Regions from separate parts of the Homo sapiens genome. Here regions 2, 3, 4, 5, 6 and 7 are each linked to region 1. Evidence: promoter capture Hi-C in human tissues and cell types (Jung and others, 2019). All regions are on one chromosome and are shown on one strand. Each heading gives the region's core, a stretch centred on a gene start or on the middle of the fragment in contact. The rest is flanking DNA. Distances are from core to core; before and after follow the strand shown.

The links. Contacts are between HindIII fragments. The study calls those that stand out against the background at their distance.
Region 2: a fragment that was not itself captured here is called in contact with the fragment with the promoter of TRIM13 in region 1 in 1 of the 25 tissues and cell types used here (lymphoblastoid cells).
Region 3: a fragment that was not itself captured here is called in contact with the fragment with the promoter of TRIM13 in region 1 in 2 of the 25 tissues and cell types used here (hippocampus and lymphoblastoid cells).
Region 4: a contact is called between a fragment that was not itself captured here and the fragment with the promoter of TRIM13 in region 1, in 1 of the 25 tissues and cell types used here (lymphoblastoid cells).
Region 5: a fragment that was not itself captured here is called in contact with the fragment with the promoter of TRIM13 in region 1 in 1 of the 25 tissues and cell types used here (dorsolateral prefrontal cortex).
Region 6: a fragment that was not itself captured here is called in contact with the fragment with the promoter of TRIM13 in region 1 in 3 of the 25 tissues and cell types used here (IMR-90 fibroblasts, dorsolateral prefrontal cortex and lymphoblastoid cells).
Region 7: a fragment that was not itself captured here is called in contact with the fragment with the promoter of TRIM13 in region 1 in 1 of the 25 tissues and cell types used here (dorsolateral prefrontal cortex).

What each region holds. Positions count from the first base shown.
Region 1 is chr13:49,995,724-49,998,423 of GRCh38, reverse strand. It overlaps TRIM13 (tripartite motif containing 13), which reads right to left and starts at 1,382. Exons shown (of 2, transcript NM_213590.3): 1 at 661-1,382. DLEU2 (deleted in lymphocytic leukemia 2) reads left to right here. Exons shown (of 14, transcript NR_152566.1): 11 at 1,005-1,350. MIR3613 (microRNA 3613) reads left to right here and starts at 1,923; the gene lies at 1,923-2,009. RefSeq lists silencers at 1,646-1,775, 2,366-2,415 and an enhancer at 1,956-2,085. The HindIII fragment of the contact is 11,924 bases long and covers 1-2,700 here.
Region 2 is chr13:51,014,268-51,016,967 of GRCh38, reverse strand. It overlaps the pseudogene GUCY1B2. Among named protein-coding and RNA genes, the nearest start is that of C13orf42, 96 kb to the left of the region's middle. The HindIII fragment of the contact is 6,465 bases long and covers 1-2,700 here.
Region 3 is chr13:51,079,211-51,081,910 of GRCh38, reverse strand. No RefSeq gene overlaps it. Among named protein-coding and RNA genes, the nearest start is that of C13orf42, 31 kb to the left of the region's middle. The HindIII fragment of the contact is 3,142 bases long and covers 1-2,700 here.
Region 4 is chr13:51,099,196-51,101,895 of GRCh38, reverse strand. The region is part of intron 1 of C13orf42 (chromosome 13 open reading frame 42); the gene reads left to right. Among named protein-coding and RNA genes, the nearest start is that of C13orf42, 11 kb to the left of the region's middle. The HindIII fragment of the contact is 4,613 bases long and covers 1-2,700 here.
Region 5 is chr13:51,132,882-51,135,581 of GRCh38, reverse strand. It overlaps a transcript of C13orf42 not described here. Among named protein-coding and RNA genes, the nearest start is that of C13orf42, 23 kb to the right of the region's middle. The HindIII fragment of the contact is 6,780 bases long and covers 1-2,700 here.
Region 6 is chr13:51,056,012-51,058,711 of GRCh38, reverse strand. It overlaps the pseudogene GUCY1B2. Among named protein-coding and RNA genes, the nearest start is that of C13orf42, 54 kb to the left of the region's middle. The HindIII fragment of the contact is 8,118 bases long and covers 1-2,700 here.
Region 7 is chr13:51,153,300-51,155,999 of GRCh38, reverse strand. It overlaps a transcript of C13orf42 not described here. Among named protein-coding and RNA genes, the nearest start is that of C13orf42, 43 kb to the right of the region's middle. The HindIII fragment of the contact is 5,773 bases long and covers 1-2,700 here.

The DNA.
Region 1 (2,700 bases), core at 133-2,632:
TATTACATAAGGTATCAGGTACAAAGCAGTGTCATGAAAATGAGCATATCTGAACAAAAGCTGTGACAGAATTAAGGCCAGATAACCTATCATAAATGTATAGAATGAACAGAACAGCCCGGTTTTAGGAAAGGACTTCCCAGGGAGGTTTAGTAAGCCAGCTGGGAGAAAGGAAAAAAAACGTATTTTTAGGGAGGGATAGGGACGCTCCCATTGTGCAAGAAGGAAGTATAGCCGGTTAACAGCTCCATCAAGTTCTACTAGAAGGAGTGCCTATGTAAATGAAATTCTGCTTTTAAAGTGCCTATTATATAAAGGTCTCTAGAAAACTCAAGCCCTGTTCTACAAGCCCTAGCAGCCTGACAATTCACTAAGCATAGGAGAAGGGAAAAAAAAGTAGGAAAAAAGTGTGGAAGCCCCTTTCTTCCTTTGTAATATGAATGTTTGGCTATATTTAAGATAAATACCACATAAATAATTGCTAAACGTGAATTCTGTTTTTCTAAGTTTTAACAAAATATGCAAAGAACAAAGACCACCAATGAAAGTGGATGGGAACATACGTATTCTACACACAGTTCCATTTTGGAAGGTTCTAGGGCCTATTGAAATTGGGTGTTTAAAAAAAAAAGATAACACAGGAAAATTATTGTAGTTTACCTCTGTCTCCTACAAGCTGATGTATTTGGCAGGGTTACTATTTCCCAGGGCAAAGCAGGTCTTTTTTTTCACGTTTTGACTAACGAACTAGAGGCTACTGCAAAGAAAGAAGAAAAAGAACAGTATTAACGCATTTATTTGCACAGCACCCCAATCTTGACCCTCAATTTTTTCAATCGCCCCCACAAATAAAGCCCGGCTGTTTAGACCTGGTGAACCGCCAGGAGCCTGGAGCTCTTTGTATTAAGCAGCTTCTCGGTTAGGGCGCCCTCCCCCGGCGCCATGCAACCAAACGCTGGCGGCGCGCTGTAACCTAAGGCCCACACCCGTCTTTTCTTTTCTAGGGGATGTGGAGACGCTGGTAGCGGGGCCAGGAAGGCTCCGGACGGAGCAGGTTTTCTGGACCACAGACACACTGCCCCGGCGCCCTCCGCAGGCCGCTCCTCCCCAGGCCCATGACAGTGCCCCGCTGGTTTCTGCCGCGCTGCCGGACTGGAGCTCAGACGGCCTTCGCCAGCCCCCCCAACCCACGCAGATCCCTGCTGACCTGGGCAACTCCCCACCCTCGCTGAAGGTTCGAGGACCACCCCGCTTTCCCGAGAGGAGCCGGGCGGCGGGTACTTATCTCCGACCTCCGGCTAGTGGGAAAGGCCGCGCGACCGCCCGTCCTCCAACTACAGGGACCGCACGGTACGCGCCAAGCACAGCCCCAAAATGGACTCGCGGCTCCGGCTAGCTCCGCCCCCTTCCCTCTCCCGCTTCCCCTTCCCCTCCCGTCCCTTCCCCCTCCCCTCCCGTCCCTTCCCCCTCCCCTCCCGTCCCTTCCCCCCTCCCCCTCCCTTTCCCCTCCCCCTCCCCCTCCCTTTCCCCTCCCCCTCCCCCTCCCTTCCCCGTCGCCCGCCTCCGCCTGCACCTCCGGCCCCGCCTCCCCGTCCCGCTTCGCCTGTGTCCCGCCTCCCCGGCCGCGCCTCGCCTTGGCGGAGGGAGCCGGGTGGTGAGACCGCGTTCCTTCCGGCGTCTCCAACCGCCGCCTGCTCCCGCCGTCCACCCGCGCGGGCCGCCTGGGACGGGGAGGGCCGGGCTGCGGGCTTTTCTCCCTTCCAGAGTCCTGCGCCCGCCCAAAGCCCCCCCGCAGAGGCTGGGCAGCGGCTCCGGGAAGTGGACGCCGTTTGCCCAGACGGTGGGCTCGACTGAAGCGGCGCGGTCCCGGGTGGGGCCGCCCGGGAAGAAAGTCTCCCAGTTAAGCTGCCGTGCAATTAAGATGGTTGGGTTTGGATTGTTGTACTTTTTTTTTTGTTCGTTGCATTTTTAGGAACAAAAAAAAAAGCCCAACCCTTCACACCACTTCATCCGCATCTCAAGACCAGAAGCCGACCCCAGCGGCTTGGGGAAATGGAGCCCCGCACCCCACAAGGGGGAGGGTGGGACGGGCACCTCCGCACTGCGCGGCCTGCGGAGTCACCGATTCGCGTTGGGAGCGCGCCAGGAGCGCCAGGGCTCTAGCCGGGGGCTCCGGGCAAGGCGCAACCAGAAAAGGGTTCAGTATCCCCCATCACCCCCACCCCCAACCGTACCCTCTTTCTTTGCGGGCTTTAGGCAGGACACCAGAGACCCAATTCTATTTAAAATTCTCTTTTAAGAAAAGGAACGCCTGTTTTTGCCTTTGGGGGAAAGGATGAACTTTCAAATTGGCTTTAAATTATCCACCACTAACAGTTACTCAGTCGATAACCTGACTATTCTGACGTCCACCTCCCGTTTGAGGACCTTGCCCAATAGCAAACGTACTAAGCACTTAACCAGTGAACGGTGTGAAGGATGCAAACATGGATGATGAAGGAATGGCTCCTCCAGAATTTACGATCTTGGGAGAAGTGAGGCGAGTATAGAATCTCAGAACACGCTGTAGGATTGAGTTCGATCCCAGTTGAGGAAGTTTGGGTTTGGGGAGGAAATAGGTTATTTTGGAGAAACGGTATTCAAAACCTACCATAAATAGCAGTACAGCCCGTTGACTAATAATGCTTAGCCCAACCCCCG
Region 2 (2,700 bases), core at 173-2,672, 1.0 Mb before region 1:
TTCCATGTACTCCAAGTTTGACAGATTAACCAGTGTGCACGCAGTCTATAAAGTAAGTGTCTGTGCAGTGTGGGGTGTTTCACGGTGTGCTCACGCAGGGCGAGTGCTTGATTCTAAGTCTCCCTTTGCCTCTGTCTGCACTGGTCTGGGGTTTGGTGTGGATGAGTGTGGGGTCAGAATAAAAGCTGAAAGGGAATTGGAAGTATTTTAGGAATTCTAGTTTTTAGAAATTCTTTTTACAATGCTCAGTGCTAAGATGGCACTCTGGTGCCCTTGAGGGGCACCTAGATGTCAGGTGTTTTCATAGAGTGTAGTTCTCCTACTCCTAAATTCAGCAGAAAATCGAATCTAAACAATGTGTTATCTCATATATAGCATCACATGACTACCCCAGGAGCTTCGTCTTTTCTGGGATTTGTTTCCACCAAAAGCAGAAAGGCCTTTTGGCTCTCTCATGGTTGTTTCCTGAGTCCTTTTCTTTCTCACCTCCTCCCTCATGCTCCTCATACCCTTAGCAAAGAATCAATTACCAGCTTTAGTATAGTCCCTTTGTCTATATATGGAAAATGAAAAAAAGTGTAGTGACATGTTTAGTGCATGAAGGAATCCCTCTGAATACCTATTTTTTTTTCCCTGACAGGTAGAAACAATAGGAGATGCTTATATGGTGGTAGGAGGTGTACCAGTGCCTATTGGAAACCATGCTCAAAGAGTGGCTAATTTTGCCTTGGGGATGAGAATTTCTGCAAAGGAAGTGACGAATCCTGTTACTGGAGAACCCATCCAGGTAGAGAGCAACTGAGTACTTGGCTTAATGCCAAACATCTCACACACAAAAGTAGAATTCTGCTTATGTGCTTAGGTGATTACTGGGTAAGTTGCTGTCATTAAAATGGGTAATGTATCCTAGCCCTTTTCTTCTCTTGCATATGTCCCTAATAGAGATATTCCTAAGGCTCCTATAGTCTCAACTTTTCTCAAATTTCAGAGGAGGCTGCGGTGCTCAAGGTTTTCCTACGATTGACTGCAAGCTTCCTTTGTTGGTAATTCAGGACAGTGCTGAGCAGTTCTTCCTATTTACCTAGCAGGGCTCAATCCATCTTAAACACCAGCTCATTTATAATTCCTGCTTTTATGTTCAAGCATTTCAACAAGTGGTTCAGGTTTAATGAGCAGCCAACTTTTCCTGCTTAGGAAATTGTGTCTCCAACATGCCATCTGACAGGTTCAGAACTCAGGCTGAGGTGTGAGGCTGCCTGCAGTCAGCAGGCCAGGCACCGTGATGCCGTAAGATATTCAGAATGGCTTTCCTTCCACCAAGTGGCCACTAGCGAGACATCTGCTCGCCTTTCTCACAGAAAAGTACGCTTCCAAGTCTGGAAGTTTGTTCACACTCTAAAAGTTGAACAGTTTTGGAGGTGAAAAATGAATGTCCTCCTCCGCTGGCTCAGCAGATCCTAATGCTCCTGGGATGGCTGAGAGTGGCGTCTCTCTGCCTTTGATTTCTAGGTCCTTCCTCTGCTAATATCAGTCAGAAATTTAAAATAAACTAGTCAATTCAAAATAAACAAAGCCAATTATAAGATGGAATATGATTTTTCCACATTATAACTTTTTACAGGAGATTCTGAAAATCTGCTGCACTCACTCTGACCATGGTGAGTTAGAAGCTGAGAAACAGTGCAGATCATGGCTACAGCATCCACTGTAGTCTTCTAAGTAAAAGCTGGCCTTAGATAGTCACAAGAACAAGATAGCTGCCATAATGACTCATTGTAAACACAGTGTGCATCAGTGGAATAAAAATCCAATGTAATAAATAAAAAATCAGGATGAGAGGCAATGAGGGAAGAGATATAAGAAGGTTAGATAAGAGATAAATGTTTCAGTTAAAGGATGCTTGTGTAAGTCACTGGTGAAAAATAAAAATAAAAATGGAAAGCATAGTGTGCGTGTGTGTGTGTGTGCGTGTGTGTGTGTGTGCATGTGTGTATGAAAGGGGCATAGCGCCAGAGATGAAAATAATGCTACACCAATAAGAATGAAATTAGACAATGAATTGTTGGAAACTCTCAAGGTGGATTTACCAAGAAAAAAATAGGAAAGGATGTTAGCAATTCCAAGGTAAGACTATGGACATAATTAGGAGCATCATTAAATATCCACCAGAAACAGCATATCATATGGGTTTATTCAAGGATGTAGGGGAGAGAACTGGAAACACTTTCTCTCTTAACAGAATTGTGCAATTATTTTGCACTGAGATATTCTATTATTTTATTCATATAGCTTTAATATACATTTACTGAGATCCATCCATGTATGAGACAGTATTACTAGGTGCTTTGAAGGGTTCAGAGAATCCTGTTTTCCTAGAGAAATTATAATTTTATTTCAAGCAGAAGAAAATCTAGCAAGTAAAAACAACAAGCAATCTGATTAGGATGTAGAAAGCTGTAAGAGACTGTTGTTCCCATGCTAGCAGTTTTTTTTCCCCCACCAGAAAGCAAAGGAATCAAAATAAACTAAATTCCAGGAAGTGACAAACCTTTCAAAGAGAAGACACCCATAATTGCATTCAATCCTGGCAGGGCAGCAGAAGAAGTAATCCACCAGAGGTGAGGGTAGGGATAATCCCGTCTAAATTTTAGTGGACTTTTAATGGTCACAGGGCTGAAACAACAGGTTAGAATGCCAAAG
Region 3 (2,700 bases), core at 113-2,612, 1.1 Mb before region 1:
CGCTACAGACTGTCTTCTGCTTCATGGGGCAAGATGCATGGAGCTGCTAGTTTGATTTGAATCGTGTGTACCCAGCCATGTGCCATGCAACTGAGAGCATTGCTGCCAAGACCGACCTTCCTGGTGCCCATTCTCAGACACAGAGCCCAAAGTGTCTCTAACAGGACACTGTGTTCCTCTCACCACTGTTCGCCTTTGCAGAGAGAATGAGTTTCCTGTTGCTGCTGTAATAAATTACCACAGACTTAAAGGCTTAAAACAATATATATTTATGCTTTTACAGTCTGGAAGTCAGAAGAACCAAAATCAGTTTCACCAGGTTAGGTCAAGATGTTGGCAGGGCTGTGTTCCTTCTGGAAGCTTTAGAGGAGAATCCATTTCCTTGCTTTTTTCAGCTTTCAGGGGCTTCCTGCATTCCTTGGCTGGTGACCCCATCCTTGCATCACTCCAACCTATTGATTCCATCATCATGTCTCCACCTGCTCAGTCTGTGCTCCTGCTTCCCATTTATAAGGATTTTTTTTTTTTTTTTTGAGACAGAGTTTTGCTCTTGTTGCCCAGGCTGGAGTGCAATGGGCACGATCTTGGCTCACCGCAGCCTCTGCCTCCTGGGTTCAAGTGATTCTCTTGCCTCAGCCTCCTGAGTAGCTGGGATTACAGGCATGTGCCACCATGCCTGGCTAATTTTGTATTTTTAGTAGAGACGGGGTTTCCCCATGTTGGTCAGGCTGGTCTCGAACTCCTGACCTCAGGTGATCTGCCCACCTTGGCCTCCCAAAGTGCTGGGATTACAGGTGTGAGCCTACGTGCCCGGCCCATTTATAAGGATCTTTGTGATTACATCACTCTCACCTGAGCAATCTCTCCATCTCCAAATCCTTAATTTAATCAAATCTGCAAAATATCTTTTGCCATATAAAATGACATTCACAGGTTCTGGGGATTAGGATGGAAACATCTTTGGGAAGCCATTATCTAGCCAACCATACAGCATCACAAGATGTTCTAGTCCTAACAGACCCAGCCCAATTCCCTTTTAAGCTTCATTATAAAAGCCCAATATTGGGAGGAGCCAAGATGGCCGAATAGGAACAGCTCCGGTCTACAGCTCCCAGCGTGAGCGACGCAGAAGACGGGTGATTTCTGCATTTCCATCTGAGGTACCGGGTTCATCTCACTAGGGAGTGCCAGACAGTGGGCGCAGGTCAGTGGGTGTGTGCACCGTGTGCGAGCCGAAGCAGGGCGAGGCATTGCCTCACTCGGGAAGCACAAGGGGTCAGGGAGTTCCCTTTCCGAGTCAAAGAAAGGGGTGACGGACGGCACCTGGAAAATCGGGTCACTCCCACCCGAATACTGTGCTTTTCCGACGGGCTTAAAAAACGGTGCACCACCAGATTATATCCTGCACCTGGCTCGGAGGGTGCTACGCCCACGGAGTCTCGCTGATTGCTAGCACAGCAGTCTGAGATCAAACTGCAAGGCGGCAGCGAGGCTGGGGGAGGGGCGCCCGCCATTGCCCAGGCTTGCTTAGGTAAACAAAGCAGCCGGGAAGCTCCAACTGGGTGGAGCCCACCACAGCTCAAGGAGGCCTGCCTGCCTCTGTAGGCTCCACCTCTGGGGGCAGGGCACAGACAAACAAAAAGGCAGCAGTAACCTCTGCAGACTTAAATGTCCCTGTCTGACAGCTTTGAAGAGAGCAGTGGTTCTCCCAGTACTCAGCTGGAGATCTGAGAACGGGCAGACTGCCTCCTCGAGTGGGTCCCTGACCCCTGACCCCCGAGCAGCCTAACTGGGAGGCACCCCCCCAGCAGGGGCACACTGACACCTCACAGGGCAGGGTACTCCAACAGACCTGCAGCTGAGGGTCCTGTCTGTTAAAGGAAAACTAACAAACAGAAAGGACATCCACACCAAAAAACCATCTGTATATCACCATCATCAAAGACCAAAAGTAGATAAAACCACAAAGATGGGGAAAAAACAGAACAGAAAAACTGGAAACTCTAAAAAGCAGAGCGCCTCTCCTCCTCCAAAGGAACGCAGTTCCTCACCAGCAACGGAACAAAGCTGGATGGAGAACGACTTTGACGAGCTGAGAGAAGAAGGCTTCAGACGATCAAATTACTCTGAGCTACAGGAGGACATTCAAACCAAAGGCAAAGAAGTTGAAAACTTTGAAAAAATTTTAGAAGAATGTATAACTAGAATAACCAATACAGAGAAGTGCTTAAAGGAGCTGATGGAGCTGAAAACCAAGGCTCGAGAACTATGTGAAGAATGCAGAAGCCTCAGGAGCCGATGCGATCAACTGGAAGAAAGGGTATCAGCGATGGAAGATGAAGTGAATGAAATGAAGTGAGAAGAGAAGTTTAGAGAAAAAAGAATAAAAAGAAATGAGCAAAGCCTCCAAGAAATATGGGACTATGTGAAAAGACCAAATCTACGTCTGATTGGTGTACCTGAAAGTGACAGGGAGAATGGAACCAAGTTGGAAAACACTCTGCAGGATATTGTCCAGGAGAACTTCCCCAATCTAGCAAGGCAGGCCAACGTTCAGATTCAGGAAATACAGAGAACACCACAAAGATACTCCTCGAGAAGAGCAACTCCAAGACACATAATTGTCAGATTCACCAAAGTTGAAATGAAGGAAAAAATGTTAAGGGCAGCCAGAGAGAAAGGTCGGGTTACCCTCAAAGG
Region 4 (2,700 bases), core at 172-2,671, 1.1 Mb before region 1:
CCTTGTTCACCTGGCTAACTTCTTGTCCTTTGAGACAGCAGAGACAGCACTTCCTGGGAAGCCTTTTCTCACATCCACAATTCCACACAGTGGATTTCCCTCCTCCCTGCGTCTGAGCCTTGTTTTAGCACTCAGCACACTGTAATTGTCTGTTCTTTTGCTTATCTATGCCACTAACTGTGAGCTCATTGAGCAGAGGCATTATATCTTATTTATCTTTTTAACTCCGACCTTTAGCACGGTTTTAGGCACATGGTAGATGCTCAGTAAACCAATTACCTGAGAAACTCCAATTGTAATTTAAGAAGAAAACTGTTATAAACTTTGATGGAAGATCTGGAAAAGTCATAGGTGTGTGGTTTTGATGCCTTTTCTTTTTTTTAGTGGAATAGAATATGGTTTGCGTATATTCATGTGGAATCATATCCTAATAATTAAAATAGCCATTATGTAATTGATTAGAGCCCACCATCAAAAACACACGCTATACATTTTTTTCTGATAATAAAGTTATATTTGCTTATAAGATGAAATTCATAACACACAGAAAAGTATAGGGAAGAAAATAAAAATATCTTAGAATCCTACCATCTAGATAGAGGTACTCACTGTATAATTTTTAGGTATATTTTCTTTTAGTCATATTTTCCTGTGTATTTGCACATATGTGCATTGGGGTTGTAAGATAAAATGAAGAATGCCTAGCAAAAATTAGAATTTTTTAGTATAAGGATGTCCCATGTAATATTTGGCATGTATTTATATGAAAAATTATTCATTGTTTATCTGAAATTAGTCTTCAACTGCCATGCTTTATTTTAATTTGTTAAACCTGGCAAACCTCATGTCCATATATGTATAAATGTACTAAATTTGGTTCATACCATATATACATCTTTGTATTCTTTTCTCAGTTAATGTTATATATTGTGAGTTCTTTTCCATCTCATTAACTACTTTTTGAAAACAAAAGCTTAAAAGGCAAATTTAACAACTCACCTTCTACAAACAATTGCTAAACGTTATAAATAAACACATTTTACTCTATGTCTGTAAGGCATTTTTTAGCAGAGATTCCTAAAGTGTGATTAATGGGTTGAAGGCCAAAGGTCATTATTTTTTAGGGATTCTTTTACGTATTACTTTCCAGAAACATTTTACCAATTTATGCTTTTCATCGACAGTGGGTTTCTAATAAGCTCTTCTATTTGCATTTTATCAGCATCAAGTACTGTCATTAATTTTAAAAGTTTGCCAATTTGATAGATAAATTGCAGTATCTTAAGGTACTTTTATTATTGCTTGCATAATGACCTTTGCAAAGGGTCATTGAAGAATGACCTTTTTTATCGTCATAAAAATGCATACTTCTTATTTAGTGGATTGTTCATTCATGTCTTCATACATTTTCTTTTGGCTGTATTAAAGTTTTGTTATTTATTTATAGGGACACTTCTTCTTATATTTTGTTACTTACAGGGATTTTTGAGGATATTAGCGCATTGTCTTCCATATATGTTAAAATATTTTCTCCAAGTTATTATACCTCTTTTCATTTATTTGACGTTTTCTGATGTGCAGATACTACTTATTTTTGTGTCTTCAATTTTTGTCTGTAATTTCTTCCGTTGCTTTCATGCTTAGAAAGTCCTTCCATGTTCCAAGGTCAATTGCATATTTGCCATATTATCCTTTTTTTAATAGTTCCGTTTTTCTTTTTTTTTAAAAAAAACCAATCCCTTTGTCTATCAGCAATTTATTTGGATATGTAGTAGGAACTGAGAACACAACTTGAATTTTCCCGAATAGCAAAGTTTTCCAACACTATTTATTGACAACTGGCATGTATATAAAAGTGTACATTCCTTCTCTTAGTGGATTGTGACATTTCACTTACTGTATGTGAAGATTTTACACTATGCTTTAAGTCTGTTAATTCAGTTCTATCAGTTAGGCTTCTAACAGTTTGATATATATGAGCAACATTTTATTAACTTAGTGTTTTGTTAAAGCCAAATGATCATTTACATGACATATAAGGCCAGGAGTTACAAGGGGCTAACAAAATAAGTAATGGCTTTAAGATTATAAAGCTGGGCCAGGTGAGGTGGCTCATCCCTATAATCCCAGCACTTTGGAAAACTGAGGTAGGAGGATTGCTTGAGGCCAGGAGTTCGAGGCCACTGTGAACGATGGTCACGGCACTGCACTCCAGCCTGAGTGACAGAGAGATATTCTGCCTCTAAACAAACAAAAACAAACATTATAAAGCTGGGGAAAAAGTAAGCCTAAAACTGTTAGTTGGATCCAGTGAGTCTACAACCTGTTACCAGAAACAAAAGATATGCAGCTGTTCTCCCAAAACTATTTTAATATTTAGTTATAATAGATAATACCATGGTTTAGTTATACTAGAGTTTCTGACAAACTTCTTATTTTTATCTCTTTGTGATAATTTTCTCAGCTCAGTTGTCTATTTCACTGATTTTTTTCTTCAGCCCTGGCAAGTTGACTATTTAGCTCATCTATTGAAAATTTGTATGTGGCTATGTGTGCCTATGTATTTAAATTTCAGTGATGATACTTTTTTCTAAGTTTTTTTCTTCCTAGTCTACAGTTCTTGTTTCATAAACTCCCATTCTTTTTCCATAAAACCCTGTTCAATTATGAGCATACATTTCCTTGGGTGCTGTAATATAA
Region 5 (2,700 bases), core at 156-2,655, 1.1 Mb before region 1:
TCCTGGGCTCAAGCAATCTTCTTGCTACAGTCTACTGAGTAGCTGGGACTACAGGCGCCTGCCACCATGACTGGTCAATTAAAAACATTAAAAAAAATAGATGGGATCTCTCTGTGTTGCCCAGGCTGGTCTCAAACTCCTGGCCTCAAGCAATCCTCCCAGATCCTCCCATCTAGGCCTCCCAAAGCACTGGGATTATAGGCGTGAACCACTGTGCCCTGCCAAGGGGGTGAGGAATTAAGCAAAGGCTCGGAGGTCTGTGGCTGCCCAGGGAGTATCAGATCCATCTTAGCACCTTCTCTCATTCTCTCCACCTGGTCTCTCTCCAGGCTCCTGGCTGCTCTACTCAGCCTCAGTTGTAGCCGCAGCTGCACTGAGAACCTCTTGTACTCTCACAGTTCCACTGCCAGGCTGAGCAGCTGTGGGCAGTCTGGTTCCTCCCTCCTCTGACAGCCACAGGTGCAGCTCCAGAGCCGGCCCTGAAAACTGGCTCCCAAGAGGCCTCCCGAGGGTTCAAGAGGTTGGGTGAGCTTTGCCCAGGGCAGGCAAGGGGTGGGAGAGGAGGGCAGCGCCTTCAGTGCTCTGATGACTGCATGTGTACCTGGCATGGAGTCAGTCATTCACAAGGCCTAGGGCCTTTGGACTCTCAATCTTACCCCGCTGCGGCTGGTGGCTCCATCCAGGTCAGGAGGGAAGGCCGGGAGGTGTTACTGCAGGCAGACCAATCTCTGAGGCCATCAGACTTGTAACCTGATGTGCTGAAAGAGTTTCTTGTCCTCTTAAGGTGGCACCACAAAAGACCCCTTCCCTCTTTCTAGGTGGATTTGGTCCTGTTCATAAGAAAAGGGAGGCAAATACCCTAAGCAGTCACAGAAATTGCTCTGGGGTAGAGAATGTGCTCATATCCTCTCAGCTGGAGCTGGGCCCAGCAGGTTTTTGATGCTGGTGATCAAATTAACCTCAGACAGGAGGAATTTCCTGCCTTGCTTGTTTGTTTAATAAAAGAACAAGAATTGGAAAACAGTTAAGTTGGAGAAATGAGTATATGTTCATTCTTGCCTATTAACCATCATAAATCCCAAAGGATTTAGAGTTTGTAGGAAGATCACTGACTCTACACTCTGTAACGGCCCCTTTGCCGAGAGGTATCTGTCCACAGCAGTTGAGTATCAGATGGGATGGTGGCTCCCCAAACCACACCAAAACAGCTTGGTGTTAAGGCAAAGCCAAGTTCATTACATACCCCAGTAAAGGGGATTCTGAGACTGAGGAGTGCCTCAGAAAAGAGGGCAAATGTGGTGGTCATTGAATATGTTGAACCCTGAGTGAGTGAGTTTTTGATGTGGGGGTGGATTAGAATTGGGAAAGTTTGGGACATATTAGGGTCAGGGGACACAGGGAGGTGAGGATTTGGGCTAGATTGCTGCTATTTTTGGTCCTGAGAAGGCAGGTAAATGGACTTAGATTTTCAGGAAATTCTGCAAAGAAACCATAAATTACCTACAAGCTCACCTTCCCAAGGGAGTTTCTGGGAGCAGTGGTGTTGGTGGATGGTGGGTGGAAGGAACATGGTGTGAGCGTGCACAGGATGCTGCAGGTGTGCGGATGCCTGCTCTCCTGAGGGCTGGTGTAGAGGACCCCAGGAAGGCTTCCCTGGCTTTTGTCCCCTGTCCTCAAGATAGCTTCTGTCGTTTGTAAAACTCCATGTTGCTCAGCACAGGCCCTTTGGAGTCAGTTTCCAGATGTCTGGTATCACAGAGCCCCCTCTTCTGTCTCATTTTTCTCTTGGACACACGGTGGCACAGAGTTCGAGATGCAGGAGGCAAAAGGTTGACAGCCACTGGGGAGGCCCATGTGCATCAGACCTCAGTGCACACAGAACAGTGCTCAGACCAAGGGAAGGCACCCGGGCACCCACACCTTTCCTGGGGCCCATTGGGGCTGTGCTGCAGGCCAGGCTGACCCAGCCCCAGGGCTCCCAGAGTGTTTCTGAAATTGCCAACTTTAATTAAAAAATATATATTTAATAAATAAAAAAATTAAAAATAGTACATGTTCAGTAGAGAAAATTTTTTATAGTTTTTAAAATTGTGATAAAATATACATAACTAAAATTCACAATTTTAACCATCTTTAGGTGTAAAATGAGTGGCATTAAGTACATTCACAATGTTGTGCAAACATCACTTCCCACCTCTAGAACTTCCCCATTCCCTCAAACAGAAACTCTGTGCCTATTAAATAGCAACTCCCCGTCCTCCCCTCTCCCAGCTCTTGGTAACCACATTCTATTTCCCTTCTCTATGAATCTGACTACTCTAGGTGTTACTGGAAAGGGGTACCAATCCAGATCTCAAGAGAGGGTTCTTGGATCTTGTGCAAGAAAGAATTCACGGTGAGTCCGTATAGTAAAGTGAAAGTAAGTTTATTAAGAAAGTAGAGGAATAAAGGAATGGCTACTCCACAGACAGAGCAGCCCTGAAAGCTGCTGGTTGCCCATTTTTATGGTTATTTCTTGATTGTATGCCAAACAAGGGGTGGATTATTCATGCCTCCCCTTTGTAGACCATATAGTATAACTTCCTGATGTTGCCATGGCATTTGTAAACTGTCATGGCGCTGGTGAGGGTGTAGCAGTGAGGACGACCAGTGGTCACTCTCATCATCATCTTGGTTTTGGTTTGGGTTTTAGCCTGCTTC
Region 6 (2,700 bases), core at 189-2,688, 1.1 Mb before region 1:
AAAGGCTGGAATGTCATCTCTTTCTTCCTTTAGAAGAGCAGTTCTCATAGCATTCCCAAACAAACAGGAATCCACATGACCTCCAGGGGGATAAAGGACATTTGAATGAGGGTACAAGAATGCAAGGGAACCAGAGAAATATGTCTGGGAATAGAGAACCCAGCAGGGTACATCCTGCGCTTGTGTCATTAGGTTTTATCTCTTTCATCTTGAAGTTTCAATTATCTGCTTAACTGGGTCTCAGGATGTTTGTATACAGAGCACTAGACATCTATACGATTGCATTGGAAATGCATCTTTAAGCCAAAAATAAAGCCAATCTAAGAAGTCCACCAGCTATGAAAATTGCATCATATTAGAATTTACTAAAAAGAAAAAAGAAAAAAAAACTAGTGCAGAAAACTCAGCTTTTAAAGGAGAAATTAAGGTGAGATTATTGGCTGTGCAAAAGGATTTGCTTAGGCCACATTTAAATAACAAATTCCCTAATGCTTTTAGAGTAGAATTTCAGCTGAGAAAGAAAAAACCCATCAATTCCTACAGAAATTTTAAGAAGAAATGATTAGGTAAAATGAAGCATGTTTCCAGACCTTATGACATAAATTTTATCTTAACATGAAATAGGAAACAGATGTTTCTCCTCCTTTGCTTGCAGTATTTTCCTCTCTTATAGTCTAGATTTGTAGATTTCTAATTATAAATCACTCTTTTTTTTTTTTTTTTTAAGAGACAGGGTCTCACTCTGTCACTCAGGCTGGAGTACAGTGGTACGATCATAGCTCACTGCAGTCTCAAACCCTTGAGCTTAAGTGATCCTTCCACCTCAGCCACCAGAGTAGCTGGGACTACAGGAATGCACCACCATGTCCAGCTAATTTAAAAAAAAAATTTTTTTTTTTAGAGACAAAATCTCTCTATGTTGCCCAGTCTGTTTGTGAACTCCTGGCCTCAAGAGATCCTCCTGCCTCAGCCTCCCAAAGTGCTGGGATTACAGGTGTGAACCACCGTGCCTGGCCTAAATTGCTTGTTTATAATCTTTTGGTTAAAACCTTTATTGAAATTTAACAATGAGAAGGAACTAATGGATTAGGAAGAGTAAGGCCTTTGGAATCAGATAAACCTTTACATTTTGCCTGGATCACTTACTTGCTGTTTGACTTGGGCAAATGTATTTATTCAACAAGTATTTAGCTTCTAGAATGTGCTGAACAAAGTTTCAGGCACTGGGAATAGAGGCAAAAGGAATAGGCAAGTGCTGTGTTCCCTGGGAATGTATTCCAATGGGGAGGACAGTAAACAGGCAAATAAACAAATAAATCTCAGGTTGTGCAAAGAGCTAAATTTAGAGTATTTAGTGGTGACTGGGCAGAGAAGATGCCAGTTGCCCTGAGCTGGTTAGAGAAAACCTCTTGGCAAAGGTAATGTTTGAACTGAAAGGAAGGAAGGAGTCAGCCTCAAGACAGAGAAGTTATATGTGTTCCAGAGAAAATGGCAAGTGCAAAGGTCCTGAGGTCAGACTGAACTCAGTGAAGAAAAAAATCTAACATGCTTGGAATATCATATGTGAGGAGTCTGATAGGAGATGAAGGTGGAGAGGGTTTTAGGGATCAGGACATATAAATGTGTAGAAGATGAGAAGGAGCTGAACTTTTCTTCTAATGACAATGGGTTACTGAAGTTTCTGAGCTTTGGTGTGGTCACTTGTGAATGGAGATAATCATGGTGCTCACCTCATCCACTTGTGAGCATAGGTGAGGTGGCTAACATCCCCTTGGCACTTTGTTTGCAGAACTTAGTCCAGGATTTTACTTCCAAGGATCAGCAATCCACTATGTAAGCTAATGTTTAAAGGAGTTACTATAAAGATTCAGAAGACTCTAACAGAACTCAATTGCAGGAAGTACAGATAAATCTCAGAGGAAACAGAAAGTCAGCAGGTCTGTTTCCAACTCTGCATCTCCCTTCACGTTTACTCTATTTTCCTGGTTATCTCTTCTCTCTGAAAGTCTTTTGATTTCTGTTCCTTTTTTTTTTTTCTGTCACCCAGGCTGGAGTGCAGTGGCATGTTCATAGGTCAGTGCAGCCTCAAATCCTGGGCTCAAGTGATCCTCCTGCCTCAGCCTCCTGAGTAGCTAGGATAAGAGGCACATGGCACTGTGCCTGGTTATCTTATTTTATTTTTTGGTGAGACAGGCTTTTGCTTTGTTGCCCAGGCTGGTCTCAAACTCCTGACTTTAAGTGATCCTCTTGCCTCAGCCTCTCAAAGTGCTGGGATTACAGGTATATGCCACCATGATTGGACTTAATTTCTGTTTCTTCCAAGCTTTTCTATATGCCCTTTGGATTCAAGAGATCACCATCATCAGACTGGCTCAGTTTCTCAGTGCCTCAATTGCAGATGCCTGAGAAAGAGGGTTTGATGGTCTTTGGTCTGGAGTCCATATGTATCCCATTCAGATGGACTTTGGAGGGTGGGGTCTCTAAGAAGAGGTAATGGGTAGAGCCATCAGGACTGACGTATATTCTCCATTGTATAAATAAATACATGAAAACGGAATGAATGATTGGATGATTCATGTGTGTATGAATGGAAGATGAATAAATGAATGAGAGGTGGATGGATGACTACCAAGCCCAACCAACCCATTTAGGAGAGAGGTGGGTGGGATTACATGGCTTCTCTCTATGTCATGGGTTCTT
Region 7 (2,700 bases), core at 80-2,579, 1.2 Mb before region 1:
CTACACTGATGTCAGGCACAGGGGAGTCTGGAAGCTGTTGAAATGAGGACTTTTCCAGCTTGTGCCATCAGGTTTTCTGCCTGGATCTCCAACCCCATTCCCATCTGGATTCTGGTAATTTTCCCCTCCCTGACCACGTGGTGACAGTTGTCCTTGTGTGAACAAGACCCCGCCTCTGAGGTCACCTGTGATGCCTGACCAGAGTCTCTTCCCCAGAAGTCAAGACTTGGAAGTAAGAAATGGTAACATCAGTTGAGATTGTCTTTGAATGGAAGAGATATAAATAGAAGAATGCGGTAGCCGTTTTCCATCTTGTCCACTTGGAAATATACTGAGAAAGGAAGTGTGCAGCGAGTGTGAGAGGTAAAGCAGAGCCTCAGATAAGAGTGGGGACCAGGAGCAGAGATTGAGAGAGGTGGGTCACTCTGAGGCCTGAGCCACTGTGGGATCACCCAGCATCCTCATCTGCAAATTACCCCTCCTGCTTAAACTGGCTGTAGTGGGTTTCCAGCGCTCATACTTGAAGAGTTCACACAAATACACCTGGACTGAGTAATTCAAGGAACAAAATTCATTGCATGAAGCAATTTTCTTGGAAGCCTTTCTTGAATCCCCTAAATTGGGTTAGGAGCTCCTCTCAAACACAGCTGCTTCCCTTTCCCCATGGACTTACTTGTATCTTAGCCCTAGTTATACTCTTCTTAAAAATATGTCTGTATTAAAAAAGTTATCTTTAAAACCCACAAGGAGTTTCCAAAATGTAGTTTTTTTGAGTTGCAATCTTTAAATGTTTAGGTCTTATTCATGTAGCTCCTGCATTATTTATTTATTTTAATAACAACATAATAGGCTTTAATATTTAGCTTATATTTATTCATTTTACATGAACTCCTTTTTAAATTGAGCATCATCCAGGAGATAGTTAAGAATTGAGGGTTTGAGGTATTAGATATATATTTCTAAACATACGTTAAACTGAATATGTACCTATTAAAAAGAAAAGATAAAACGTTCTACCTAAGATCATCTCACGTACCACTTTGGAAACTCCTGTCCTACCTTACCGGCCCCTTAAAAGCAGGACAGTGACTCATGCACAGCCTGCTTTCTACCCTTGGGCTCAGGGCCCAACATTTCCCCTTTATAGAACTTTTCACAAGAAACCGTCGAATGTGCAATTAGTTTACTTGTCTGACTTGCATGGAAGACCCTTCCATGCATTGTTTACTGCTTTATCCTCAGTGTCTTCAACGAGGTCTGGCACGTAGCTGAGGTTTAATACATATGCATTGGAAGAAATAATGCATGCATTGATAAATGAAAACCAGTTCCAGAATGTTCTACAGCCATGAATGTCAATACATGCTGCTTCTGACTGGTGGGGACACTTGAGGGTGAGCACTCTTGCTCAGTCTCTTACTTTTCTCGCTTGCTCCACTCTGGTGGTGACACTATCAGGTCAAACATGGAAAGTCTTTAGTCCTTAGTTCCATTGGCTGAAGCAGAACAGTCCTCCGACACTGTGATTCATACGCACCCTAACTGGGCATGTGCAGAGCCAGCTGTATAATTGTATAATTTAAACAGCCCAGTTCAAAATGAAAATGTGTGTTCAAAAAGCAGGAGTCCCTATGACTCAGCAATTCCACTTCCAAACATACCCAACAGAATCGAAAGCAGGGACTCAAAGAGATAGTTGCATACCGTGTTCATGGCAGCATTACTTACAATAGCCAAAAGGTGGAACTTAAATGTCCATCTACAGATGAATGGATAAACAAAATGTGACATAGACACACAATGGAATATTATTCAGCTTAAAAAAGGAAGGAAATTCTGACACATGCTACTCACGAAGAACCCCAAGGACATTATGCTGAGTGAAATAAGCCAGTCACAAAAACACAAAAGCTGTATGATTCACTTGTGTGACGTACCGGAGTTGTCAAATTCATAGAGATAGGAAGTAGAATGGTGGTTGTCAGGGGCTGGGGGTAGGGGAAAATGGGGAGTAATGGGTATCACATTTTAGTTTTGCAAGAAGAAAACAGTTTTGAAGATGGGTTGGGTCAGGCATGGTGGCTCAATCCTGTAATCTCAGCACTCTGGGAGGCCGAGGCGGTAGATTGCTTGAGCCCAGGAGTCTGAGACCCGCCTGGACAACATGGCGAAATCCTTTCTCTACTAAACATACAAAACTTAGCTAGGAATGCACCTGTAGTCCCAGCTATTTGGGAGGCTGAGGTGGGAGAATCACTTGAGCTCAGGAGACGGAGGTTGCAGTGAGCTGAGAGATTGCATCACTGCATTCCAGCCTGGGCGACAAAGCGAGATCCTGTCTCCAAAAAAAAAAAAAAAAAAAAAAAAAAGAAAAAAAACAGAAAGCAAGAAAATGGGTTGATAACAACGTGAATGTATTTAACACAACTGAGCAGTACACTTAAAATGGTTAAGAGAGTAATTTTATGTTACATAATTTTTACTACAATTTTTTTTAAAGTAGGAGAAAAGCTTTCTCTCTCACAGTCTCTATCTCTGTCTCTCTCTCTCTCTCTGTCATGTTTTTTTATTTGGTATTGAGTGTCACACTCCCTTGGGCACAAGCATAGGCATTGGGTGAGTGCAGACACTTATAGGTGCCCAGGACCTCATCTTGATGCCCTGGGCATGCAGGGGGTGCATGCCTGGCTCCCACACTCT